Linked DNA regions of Homo sapiens: region 1 is linked to region 2. Evidence: promoter capture Hi-C in human tissues and cell types (Jung and others, 2019). All regions are on one chromosome and are shown on one strand. Each heading gives the region's core, a stretch centred on a gene start or on the middle of the fragment in contact. The rest is flanking DNA. Distances are from core to core; before and after follow the strand shown.

The links. The method cuts DNA at HindIII sites, captures the fragments that hold promoters and counts their contacts. A contact is called where the count stands out against the background at its distance.
Region 1: a fragment that was not itself captured here is called in contact with the fragment with the promoter of MED23 in region 2 in 1 of the 25 tissues and cell types used here (spleen).

The regions. Positions count from the first base shown.
Region 1 is chr6:131,185,139-131,191,706 of GRCh38, forward strand. All of the region lies in intron 5 of AKAP7 (A-kinase anchoring protein 7), which reads left to right. It also overlaps the pseudogene LOC100421246. Among named protein-coding and RNA genes, the nearest start is that of AKAP7, 53 kb to the left of the region's middle. The HindIII fragment of the contact is 4,373 bases long and covers 200-4,572 here.
Region 2 is chr6:131,622,974-131,630,191 of GRCh38, forward strand. MED23 (mediator complex subunit 23) reads right to left here and starts at 5,269. Exons shown (of 29, transcript NM_004830.4): 1 at 5,038-5,269; 2 at 4,668-4,699; 3 at 4,423-4,510; 4 at 1,892-2,016; 5 at 378-489. The coding sequence starts at 5,076. RefSeq lists enhancers at 4,909-4,958, 5,089-5,258. The HindIII fragment of the contact is 9,048 bases long and covers 3,465-7,218 here.

The sequences.
Region 1 (6,568 bases), core at 1,136-3,635, 440 kb before region 2:
CTGCTGCTGTCCTGAGAGATCAGCCCCTCCTTCTTCAGGGTGGGGTCTGTGTCTGGCTTAATAGGTGGGAAGAAAAATTGTGGATCTTCACAGGGGTGGGCTCACCGCTTTTTCCGCCAGTGCTGGGCAGGGTACGAGTAGTTGTCCAGAGGCCAATCCTAGAACCTGGTTACTTCTTCATCCAGCTGTAATAATTGTTCTGGGCTACTCCAGTCTGTGAGGCCAAGAAAGGCAGGCACATGCTGTGCTCAGCACAGAGGTGGGCATTGTAATTGTGGCCCTGCTCCATGGCATCTTTGTAGTACTGCTCCCAAGGAACTTCATTGCATTCACCACCACAGGTGCCATTTTCCTTGCTTCTCTCCCTCCAGTAATGGCCATTCTAATGGGTATGAGGTGGTATTTCATTTGTGGTTTTGATTTGCAATTCCTTGATGATTAGTGATGTTGAACATCTTTTCCTGTGCTTTTTGCCGTTTGTGTTTCTTCTACGGAGAAATCCTATTCAAGCCTTTTGCCCATTTTTAAACCAAGTTGTCTTTTGTTGTTGATTTGAAGGAGTTCTTTAAATTCTGAATGTTAATCTCTTATCAGATATACGATTTGCAAATATTTCTCCCACTCCATAGGTGGCCTTTTCATTCTATTATATCCTATGATGCACAAAAGTTTTAAATTTTTATGTAGTCCAATTTATCTGTTTTTACTTTTGTTGCCTGTGCTTTGGTGTCACACTCAAGAAATCATTGCCAAATCTAATGTCTTGAACCTTTCCCTCTATGTTTTTTCTTAAGAGTCTTATAATTTTAACTCTTATGTTTAGATCTTTGATCCATTTCGAGTTAATTTTTGTATATGGTGTAAGGTGTAAGGGACTAACTTCATTCTTTTGCATGTGGATATCCAGTTTTCCTAGCACCATTTGTTGAAAGACTGCTGATGTAGTTTGTATGTTATCCCTTCTCAAATTGTATGTTGAAATGTAATCCCCAGTGTTGGAGGTGGGGCCTTGTGGGAGGTGATTGGATCATCATCCTCTTGGTACCATCCTCATGCTAGTGAGTGAGTTCTTGTGAGATCTGGTCATTTAAAAGTGTGTGGGACCTTCCCCTCTCTCTCTTATTCCTGCTCCCACCCTGTGAGATGCCCGCTCCCCTGTGCCTTCTGCCATGGATTGTAAGCTTCCTGAGGCCTCCCCAGAAGGAGATGCTGGCATTATGCTTCCTGTACAGCCTGCAGAACTGTGAGCCAATTAAAGTCTCTTTTCTTATAAGTTATCCAGTCTCAGGTATTTTTTTTTTAAATAGCAATGCAGAAATGGCGTAATACAACTGTCTTTTCTCATTGAATGATCTTGGCACAGTTGTTGAAACCATTTGACCTTCCTGCTGTTATAACAAAATTCCTGGACTGGGTAATTTATAAACAACAGAAATTTATTCATCACAGTTTTGGAAATGGGAAGTTCAAGATCAGGTCACCAGAAGATTTAGTGTTTGGAGAGGGCTCTCTGCTTCACAGATGACACCTTGCTACTGCATCCTCACCTAGTGGAAGGGGAGAACACTGTATCCTCACATGGTGGAGGGGCAAAAGGGACAAAGACAAAAGACAAAAGTGATTTAGGACCCCAAAATCTCTTTTAAGGACAGTAATCCCATTAATGAAGGCAGACCTCTTGTGACCTAATCAGCTCCCAAAGGCCCCACCTCTTAATACCTTTACCTTGGGGATTAGGTCTCAACGTAAGAATTTTGGAGGGACACAAACATTCAGACCATAGCAACCATATATGTGAGGGTTTATTTTTGAGCTTTCTATTCTATTTCATTAGCCTATATATTTGTCTTTATGCATATATTACACCGTCTTGATTACTGTAGATTTGTAGTAACTTTTGAAATCAGAAGTGTAAAATCTCTAACTTTGATCTTCTTTATCAAGATTGTTTTGCTATTCAGAGATCCTTGAGGTTCAATATGAATTTTAGGATGGATTTTTTTTAAATTTCTGCAGAAAATACCATTGGGATTTTGATAGGGTTACATTAAATCATTAGATTGCTTTGAGCAGTATTGGCATTTTAACAATATGTTGTCCTTCGGTTCATTAAAACAGGCAGGATGTCTTTTCATTTATTTGTATTTTCTTTAATTTCTTTTAGCAATGTTTCATAGTTTTCAGAATATGCATCTTTCACCTCCTTGGTTAAGTTTATTCCTAAGTATTTTAAAATTTTTGTATTCCTAATTATTTTATAATTTTATTTATAATGTTGATGCAATTGTTTTCTTAATTTCCTTTCACATTGTATCACTGACCTTTCATAGAGACTTATTTCAAGTGTCACTTTAAAAATAAAGGCCTTTTTTCTCCAAAGTAGAAATGATCATTTTATCCTCTTATCCCCTATATCTCTACTGTAGAAACTATAACAAGTTAGTGTAATTGTTTAGAAATCTAACTTTCCCAACCAGAATTGAAAGGTCTTTGAGGGAATCTTCCGTCTTTGTGTCCTCAATTCCTGCCACATAGTAGAGATTCAATAAATATATTTTAATACATAAAGCAATGAAAAAAAAGTGTGATGTACACATAAAAGTTTACTTGAAAGAACATTTAACTTTAGGTAGTCTCTCTTCCCTCATTTACATTTGTGTCTAAATCTTTGCATGAAAATTAAACCCAGTCCTGGTGTTCTAGAATCCCCTAAGGGTGATGTACCAGAACTCTCTCTGGCAGTTCACTTGGATTTGCTGGTTGTTAGGATAAGAAGGGACCTGAGAGACAATTTATTATGGTCTCATCACTTTTACTATCAGTGTTAAGTGATGTGTCTAGGAGCACAAACTAAATAATGGGAGAACTGGGTTGGAGTTAGAAGGCTCAGTCTGGTTCTCTTTATCAACTGTGGTAGAATGAGTAGAATTCCTCTGGCATCAAGATGTATTTTAAAGATGTGCTTTTAAGAATGACACTTAAAAATTCTACTTGTCAGTTTTACACAGTAATCAACTGGAAATATCTATTTAAGATGAGGACTATAAAATTTTTAAATTGAAGTTGGTTTCAGCATTATGTCAGCCTTTATATTGAAACATAGTTCAAGTGACTTGCTAAGACTGTCTAAAATGGAACTGTTTAAGCAGTATGTGGATACAGGAATGCTTTAAATGTTAATAGTAATATTATAGGAACAACAAAAACAGCTTTATGGCTTTTATTTCTTTAAAGTTTCAGGTGACGAAAAGTGATTTTAAAATTTTATTGAGATTTTTCGTATTATATGTGACACAATTTTAGCATAACTTACAATAGTAGTAGAAAGTATCTTGCAATTGGAAGACATGGAAAATACTCATGCTTGCTATTGTTTAATTACACATTAGTTTTGTTGTTGTTGTTGTTTTGTTTTTTAAGACCGTGTATCACTCTGTCACCCAGGCTAGAGTACAGTGGTGTCATCACAGCTCACTGCAGCCTTGACCTCCCTGGGCTTAGGTGAGCTTCCCATTTCATCCTCCTGAGTAGCTGGGACTACAGGCATAGGCCATCACACCTGGCTGATTTTTGTACTTCTTTTTTTTTTTTTTTTGTAGAGACAGGGTTTCACCATGTTGCCCAGGCTGGTCTCAAATTCCTGGGCTCAGGCAATTCTCCCTCCTTGGCCTCCCAGAGTACTGGGATTATAGGCATGAGCCACCTCGCCTAGCCCCAAATCAAAAATTGAACTTGCCATTTTTGTGACATCCACATACTGAAATAATATATAGAGATACTTGACTTATGGTGCAGTTACATCTTAATAAACCTATTGTAACTTGAAAATGAATTGAATACATTTAACCTACCTGAAAATATAGCTTAGTCTAGCCTACCTTGAATGTGCCCACAACACTTAACATTAACCTATAGCTGGGCAAAAAAATCATCTGGCAACACAACACACTATAGAGTGTTTGTTGTTACCCTTGTGATCCTGTGACTGGCTGGGAGCAGCTCGCTGCTGCTTTCTGGCATTGAGAGAGAATATCATACTGCATATTGCTATCTGGGAAAAGACCAAAATTCAAAATTTACAAGTACAGTTTCTACTGAACACATGTTGCTTTTGCACAATTGTAAAATCAAACAATCATAAATTGAACCTTTGTAGTTTGAGGATTATCTGTATAAGTTTAGTAATATAATGAACTTAATTCCTTTTAGCATTCTAGACTATTCTTATTAATAAACCTCTTTTTGATTATTCTCAAATTGGAGATCATGTGATCGTATAAACATCTTTAACAATATTAGAGAAAGGGAGAAAATAGCAAAAGCTTGGAAAGAAGGGGTAAATATTTATCTTGCAAAAAGGGTATATAAGTAGAAACATGACTTTGTTAAAATTGATCTGTTACAGTTTACTTTGAGACAACTTTTAACAACTTCTTTGCATTTTAAGATTATTATGTAAATTTATTGCTGCTACATATTTTAAAGAGTTCACCTAAAGAAAATCTCCTATAGAAAAAAATATGTAAAGCCTAAAAAACAGATAAAGCTGTATTTGTTAGGGTTACAAATGTGTTGTTTCTCTATTAAATTGTTTATTTCAGTATTCTTTTATATAGCAAAGTGTCCTTGTATGTAAATATATTTTTAAGTAGTTGTTCTTCAGACAATTTTCATCTTCAGTTATAAGTTATATTATTTAGGAGGCACCCTTACCTGACTTTTTGAAGGATATCTGATGTATGTGTTTTGTGATTTTTGGTTTAGTGCTTGAAGGAATGCCTGTGGTACTGGGAGGAATTAAGCAATCTCAATTATTCATAAGCTTCTCTTCCAGGACTTCCAACTTCTGTGTAAGTTGTTAACACAGATGAAAAATGACATGTAGGTTTCATATTAGTAAAAACTTTTCTCATCCCAAATATGACATTGCTCGAACCATTACCTAATACCCTAAGCAATAGATTATACTACTGTTAGGAATATAAAATCAGTATTAAGAAGTACTTTTCAAAAAGAAGGCATTTTCTTTTTCCCCACTTCTATGTACCTATGGACTATATTGAAAAAGCACATTAATAAAAATCAAAAGTTCTTTGTGACAAATATTATTTAAAACAGTATTGTGAATAAATATCATAAAATACTTCAGACCTAGTGAATAATGAGAGCTGTTGGGTCAAAATCTGAGGTAACTGAAATCAATAAATTGAAAAGTGTTGGCTGGGCGCGGTGGCTCATGACTGTAATCCCAGCACTTTGGTTGGGAAGCCAAGGCGGGCAGATCACTTGAGGCCAGGAGTGCAAGATCAGATTGGCCAACATGACAAAACCCATAACTACTAAAAATACAAAAATTAGCCAGGCATGGTGGTGCGTGCCTGTAATCCCAGCTACTCAAGTGGCTGAGGCACAAGTATTGCTTTAACTTGGGAGGTGGTGGAGGTTGCAGTGAGCTGAGATTGTACCATTGCAATACAGCCTGGGTGACGGAGCGAGATTCTGTCTTGAAAAAAAAAAAAGGAAAAAAAGAGAAAAATGTTTTCTTTAGACTCAGTTGATTTAAGATTGTTATAGCAAATAAGATAATAAATAAACATTAGGTAGTAAAGAACAGTACAAATGCCCACTGTTTTAATTTTCTGTTAACAGAAGTCCATTTCTTATATCCATCAAATTTTTTGATAAATTCAAAAATTCAAATTTGATTTTTTTGATGTTGATTGGGAAGTCCTTCTTCTTCTTGTGCTGAAATCTGTCCCATGAGACTGTAACCTCCCAGGAGACCAAAATAACTTTTAGAGTCTCTTTTGTGCAGCCTTCAGCAGATACTGTGCTTGGCACATACAGGGAGTGCTCAGTAGGTAACTGAATAAATGAATTTGTGCTTCCACACCTTTATGCTGTTTGTTTTCTGGGTTGATACAAACGTGTTGCTAAATTGCTATTGGAAGCTCCTATATGGGACAATTCTGCAAATATTCGAAGACTTGGAAATTATGCTCTAATCAGTCAAATCTTAGGAACATAGTAAGTTAGTCCATCATGACATATGTAAAACCATAAGACATCGCTAATATTTGACTGTTTTTGACCCATAAAAGTGACAGTTTTGTATGATTCAGCCTAATATTTCAACATGAGGTTCTTTTAAAACAGTTGTGAATATGCCAAAATAGAGAGGGTCAAAGTTGGGTTATGACAGGGTAGTTGAGAAAAGAGAAGTTTTGGTAATTTATATGAACTCTAAGTTGATAAGTTAATTACAACGATAATTGTTAGGAATACACTCTCACTGTTTCATAACATGCTTATGCTGGACTTGTCTTTCTTTTTTTTTGGCTACCCAGCATCTAAATTTTTTATACCAATCTCTTGTGTTAGTTACATTCTTTCATAGACTTCCTTGCTGCTAGGGAAGGAAAATATGATCTTGGTCTGATGCAGACTTTGAATCAGAAGCTAGCAACTTGAAGAAGAAAAGGACCATGCAGAATTCATCCTTGGGATAGGTGTGTCATCAGTGACAGCTACTACCAGTCCAAGGCCAGTGGGAACAGTTTTGGCCCTT
Region 2 (7,218 bases), core at 4,019-6,518:
GAGAAGTGAAGCCAGGTCTTGCTCCCTTCATCAGTGATGCCTACATCCCTTCTCAGTTCCACACACCCCTGCTCTGTGCTTTCATTTGAAGGGATCATAATACTTGCAGCATGAAGGAACACGGATTCTGCTTTGTGACTTCCCTGCTCTTCATAAAAATGTATCAGCTACCTGTATTTATAAGAATGTTGGGAGGGGAGTAGCGGAGCCAGGGAAACAACTGAGTAACTTTAAATCTTTTCAGGAAATATACCACAAGAAATAGACAGATTTTGTAAATGCTTCCACATCATTTCTCTCACCTGAAAATAAGACATGCACACCGAAAAATCAATCATATCTGAAAGCAATCACTTTTTATAATAAGAAAAATATACCTTGTAATCCACTCCCCCAATTATTTTCCGAACCAGTTTAAATGTTAAGGCCCAAAGCTGTGTTCTTTCCCACTCAAGAGTGTCAGAGTTTATCAGGGATTCACAAACCAGCCTATAAAAAAAGAAATAGCCATTCCAGTTACAAGACAGAATTTTCCAAGTTCTCTAATAGCCGCCAATATGGTTTGGCTGTGTACTCACACAAATCTCATCTTGAATTGTAGTTCCCATAATCCCCACGTGTCATGAGAAAAACCATTTAAATCATGAGGGACAGTTCCCCCAATACTGTTCTCATGATAGTGAGTTAGTTCTCACAAGATCTAATGGTTTTATATGGGGATTCCCCCTTCACTGGGCACTCATTCTCTCTCCCACCACCCTGTGATGAGGTGCCTTTTGCCATTATTCTAAGTTTCCTGAGGCCTCCCTAGCCATGCCAAACTGTGAGTCAATTAAACCTCTTTCCTTTATAAGTTACCCAGTCTCGGGTATATCTTTGTTAGCAGCATCAGACAGACTAATACAGCCATAGTCTGTGCACTGTATTATATTTATCCTCACAAGTGTCTTTCATAAAAGTGATTACTAAGCACACTTATAAATCTGTGTAGTATTTTACATTTTTTACTTGTATGAAAGATCAAAAACAAAGTAAGAATGAAATAATATTCATTATGTTATATTTTACTAGAAAGAAGTCTATCTAAAGCTTTCGGTTAGATGTTTACCATCTATCACCTTGTGGTACACTGGATTTTTCCAACAGGATGGCAACAAGATTTTTGATCCCACATCTTCTTCTGAAATGTGACACTGACATTTCTCCCAAGGAGAGGTAGGGGGAAAGTCTACGTTCTCACTCCTTAGATCTGGGCAGACCTAAGACTATGGCCAAAAGGATGCAGTATGACTTCCAAGAAGACAAGGTGATACAATTTCTGCCTAGCCCTCTTTTGCACACTTGCTGTTAGGCTCCACCATGAGGTGAGAAAGTCTAGGCCACAAGGTGAGGGCCTGCGGAGGTTCTGGCTAATAATCCCAGCTGAGGTTCCAGATGACAGCCAGGAATCAACCACCAGATATCTGAGTGGGGAAGCTTTTGCCATGCTCCAGCCCTAGCCACATTGATCACAATCATTATGACCTTGAGTAAAAAGTGTCTCCTAAGCCGAGTCAACCACTAAAACCATGAATAATTTTAAAACCTGAGTATTACTGTTTTAAGCCATAAGGTGTTGAGGTTGTGCAGCAAAAGTAAAGGGTTACAAACTAATTAAAGTGATTAATTTCAGCCCCTGGGCAGAAACATCTGGTTTTGAGCCCACAAGCATTACCTAATTCAAAGACTATTACTCCTAGAAACTAAAACCTGAGGTATTATATAAAGGATTACTTGATAAACCTCACCTTCTTCTTCATTCTCTTACCTTTTTACAACAACAACCTCAACCAATTTCCAATCACATATAGAAAAGAAAATTCTTCAGATTGCTCATACCCATTAAACGTACCTGGGTGGAAGGAGACCAGTCTCAACTGCCATTGCTAAGCAGTCATAAAGAAAAGAAATTCTTTTAGGACTATGCTGACCATGAATAAACTTAACAATCCACTGGATACACTGTTCATGAGACTCCTGGAAAATGAGAGAATGATTTTACTTGGGGTCTAAAGTTACATTTTTATAACCAATAGCTAATACTACAACTGGAAGTATACCAATACTATGAAAGAAATACTTCACTATGAGCATCTGTGGATGAAAATAATTTTTAAAAAAAGCAAAATTAAAAAATTCAGATTTAGTATTTGTCACATTAAGCTTAACATTTTGTAATTACATAGATAAAATGCTACCATTTTTATTACATGGGAACTTCAAAAGTAGTAATTAATTAGTTAACATATTAACGGTCAATAGAAAACTCTTAACACAGATTGTTGTAAGGCATTGTAAACAGTGCCCTTTATGGCATATATAAATATTACTGTCACTGGGGGTAAAATTCATTATGGATCAGTATGTATCAGGCTTAGGAGAATTAGGTGTGAATCCAATCCCTAAGATCCCAAACAAGAGCCCATTATGAATCCAATGACATGTCACATTTCTAGACTGGCAAAACTTTAAATACGATGTCAAAATGTTGTGCCCGTATCAAAGTTTGTCTTCTAGGATTATCTCCAAAAAGAGCCTATAATGTTCTGCTTCTCTCCACAACCACTGTTCTCATACATACTTCTATTGTGGCACATATAACAATGATTTGGAAATACCTATTTTCTTCCTGGTCTCTCCATTAGAGGGCCACATCATAATTCATAAAGTGTTTAATGAATTTTTTTTTAAATTTTGGAAAGATATTCAACATCACTGAGAGAAATGCAAAATAAAATTATACTGAGATAAAATTTCTCATGTTTTTGATTGGCAAAGATCAAAAAGCTTAACACTCTATTGTGAGGTTATAAGAAAAAGATACTCTCAGCCGGGCGCGGTGGCTCATGCCTGTAATCCCAGCACTTTGGGAGGCCGAGGTGGGCAGATCATGAGGTCGGGAGATCGAGACCAACCTGGCTAACACGATGAAACCCCGTCTCTACTAAAAATACAAAAAATGAGCCGGGCGTGATAGCAGGTGCCTGTAGTCCCAGCTACTCGGGAGGCTGAGGCAGGAGAACGGCGTGAACCCGAGAGGCAGAGGTTGCAGTGAGCCAAGATCACGCCACTGCACTCTAGCCTGGGCGACAGAGTGAGACTCTGTCTCCAAAAAAAAAAAAAAAAAAGAAAAGAAAAAGATAATCTCAAACACTGCTGGTGGAAGCATAAACTAGTATAACCCTTATGGAAAATTTAATAATTTCTATAAAAATTACAAACTGATAAGGCTTTTGACTCAGCAATACTATTTCTAGGAATTTATCCTATTTTTCATGCATAATATTATTCATCACAGCATTGGTTAAATTAGAAAAAGTAAGAAGAAACTTAGAAGACAGTAGAAGATTGGTTAAAAGGAGGAAGGTACAGCCATACAATGGAATATTATGCTGCTATTTAAAAAAAAAAGTAAGAAAGGAAGGAACAAGTAACGCTTGGACTGATAGGGAATTACCTGTAGATTATTATTAGGAGAAAAAAAGTGCTAATTAATGAACAGTGTACATGGTATATGATCATGCTATAAAAGTGTTTCTATATGCATAAAATACTTCTAGAAGAAAACATAACCTGAGGATATTGGCTACAGACAGAAAAAATAACAGGTAAGAGAAGAGAAAGAGACTAGTTATTGGATCCACCCTTTTATACCTGTGCATTTTGAACCATATAAATGTATTACCTATTAGAAAACAACTAAACAAAAAGGTTAAAACATGACTGTATTGGCATTATATGATCCATGTCTGAGTGGCAAATCTTATCACCAGTGGCTGACACGCAAACAGTTCTCATTTCCCTACCTATAGTGTACCATGAGAAGGTAAGGCACTACTGCAATGTGAGCTCTTCGAGGATGACACATTTTTGTCTTTTTCACGGATACATTTTCTGGTAGCTGTTCTTTGTTACTTTTACAGTTTGTCTCCTCATTTTTACTATAATATTTTCCTATCCTTATTATAGAATCTTGGTATTCCTATTGTAGCATCTTTGTATCAATGCTGTGCCAATTCCTTTATTTAGCAGAAAAATGGAATTTGTATCCTTGACAAGTAAAGCTTAACATATCTGTTTTCAAGTGTACCAAATAAATCCGAATAGGATGAAAATGATCTCAATTAATCTAACATAGGGGAGGTTTTTTTTTTTAAACATCTCACACTGTGCAGTATCAACTTGACTTCTCAACACAGGTTTTCCACTGAAATATACAAATTAAAACAAATGGAAGCCAGAATAAAAAATGATAACAATTTTATTTCTCCCTTCTCAGGAAGATCTTAAGAGCAGCATGAAAGTAAATGTTAAAAGAAAAAAAAAAAAAAAAAGAAGAGGCCAAAAATCATCAGCTGAATGTATTAAAAATGAAGCGCTCACCTGAGAAAGACCACCCCAAAACTGTCTGAAGGCCCCCAAACAGCTAATTAGTTTTGTTTTCTCATCTTCAGGAGTATCCATAAACATGCTAAAAAAATAAAAATTACATTATTTGTCATTCGTTTTAAAAAGGTAATTACACACAATCAGAATAGTGGATCTTATAACCTTCCAACACGAAACTAAGTAAAATCTGACAGACACAATCACATAAAAACACAAAACTCTGCCACGCATACACTCACCCAGGAAAAGCCTCTTCTATAACTTCCGTTTTCTGTAAAAAAAAAAAAAACAAAATGTAAACAATGTTAATTTTAAAAAGGCGCCTCCCTTAGCCAAGTATTACAATGTAACACAGGGCAAGTCACCTTAATCAGCTCTGAAACTATCAATACCTGTCTGGCCTGTCACTGTATCGATTTCAAAGGATACAATGAACTTGACAGCAGTTTGAGAATCACTAAACTTCCCCGCATACAACCTCGGTGTCAAAACAAGGGAATAAAAAGGGAGGCGTGAGAGGAGGTTGCCCAGGCCAGTTTCCTTGGTCGGCTGCCCCCGCGTCTCCCCGTCCCCAAGCCGTAGTCCTGGATGGCCGGCAGCTGCACTCACCACCACCTCTTCGAAAATGCTCTGCAGTTGCGTCTCCATCTGTACTATCACCCCCGCCTTTCCAGGGTGCCCGGCAAGGCCCGGATCAGACTCGAGCTCTGGGAATATAGGGGCAGAGGGGCGGAGACCTCTGGAGGAAACCGTAGCTCCTCGGCGTCGCTTCCTCCCCCAGCGCTTTACCTGGAGCGTTCCCTCCCGAGCCCAGCCAACAGCAGGAACCTGTACGGAAGACGGGAAGGGCCCGGTACGCGCCGTTTGCAAACCCCGCAGAAACCAGCGGCGCCACCAGAAGGTTCCGTCTGTGGAGAAGGGCGGCCCGCAAGCCGGACGAGAGCGCCCCCAAACGGAACCTTGAGCCCAAGGACCCCGGAGGCATCGTCGACCGCAGGCCGCCACCTCCCGGCTGGAGAAGGAGTTGCTTCCTGTTCGGGGCTAACCCGCTTGCAGACTGAGAAATGAAAAGTTTGGAACCCAGAAGCTGCAGCCTGCGGAAAATGCTGGAGCCGCAGCCGACACCAAGTTGATGTCTGTGAGCAGCTGACCTTCTGGACCTCCATCAGCGGCCTGCAGCCAGGAGCTGAAGCCACAGAGACGGTGTCTTCTCAGCTATGATAACCTCAGTGCAAATGTAATTGATTGACTTTTGAATGCCAAACCAATTTTGCTTCTATGGTATAAATGCTACTTGGTCATAATATATTATCCTTTTTAATATATTGCTAGATTCTATTTGCTATTATATTGTTGAGAGTATGTGTTTTTCTTCATATGCCACCATCATCACCAACCCCTAAAACATCTGTTATGTCTTGAATGATCAGCTTTCTTTGCCTCATAAAGAAAATTGTTGATGAGAGTCATAGACATCCAAAGGCCTTTCACTTCTTTGACGGTTGTGAAATGCCACAAACTGCTAAGCATGAACTACTCCTTTGTAGCTGCTAAGTGATGAGCTGATGACTCCCCATTCATGGTTTTGTTATACAAGTGTCTGACCTGGCATAAATTTAGTTTTCTAACAACTTTAATATGCACATGCAACCATGTTGTCCACACAATAGCTACTAAAAGCTGAAAAGAAATAATTCAGATTTCCTGCTGGAGAAAAACTTGAAAAGTTAGGCTTAGGGTATTGTTTGCTAGGGTTGCCATAACAAAATACCACAGACTGGGTGGCTTAAACAACAGAAATTTCTTTTCTTGTAATTCTGGAGGCTGGAAGTCTGAGGTTGAGGTTGATAGGGTTAGTTTCTATAGAGGCCTCTGTCCTTGGCTTGTAGATGACCTTCTTCTCCTTGTGTCTTCACATGGTCTTCCCTTTGTACATGTCTGTGTCGTAATTTTCTCTTCCTAGAAGGACATCAGTCAGGTTAGGGCCCATGTATCTACTCTAAAGAGCTTTAGCTTAGTTGAAGACATAGACATTTTAAACCATAATAGAGTGTGATATGTGCAATACTAGTGATGCTAATAAAGTGCCAGGGAGAAAAGGAGGAAATACAAATTTTTCTACAGAAAGGAATTTAGAAAGATACCTAGGGGAGTTTGCTTAGATTGCTGTGAACAGCATACTATAAACTGGGGGGTAATTTGAGTCTGAGCAAACTGAAAGCTGAGAATTCAGGCTTCTTGTTCCATCCTTGTCCTATCAGGATTTAGAGTGGGGGACTAAAGAGCCAACTGGAAACTCTGAGCAGCTGGGCAGGGCTTATCAACTTTGAGCATCTTTATAGTGTGTTCTGGGGACATTGTTTCTTGGAGAATCCCCAAAGTTGGTATCATCAGGTCTTTCCCCTTAGGCTGGTCTGAATCACCAAGGAAGATACATCTAATCTCTTACAAGTGGGTAAAGTTCTGACTGGCTGCCAACCTTCTTGCAGCCAAAAGGAACAAGAAGCCTGATCTCTTACAAGTGGGTAAAGTTCTGACTGGCTGCCAACCTTCTTGCAGCCAAAAGGAACAAGAAGCCTGAGTTCTCAGCGTTCAGTTTGCTGAGACTCGAATCACCCCAGTTTATAGTATGCTATTCACAGCAGTCTGAGCAAACTCACGTAGATATCTTTCTAAATCCCTTTCTGTAGAAAAATTTGTATTTCTTCCTCTTTCCTCCTGGCACTTTATTAGCACTACTAGTATTGCACAGATTACACTATATTATGGTTTAAAATGTCTACTTCTTCA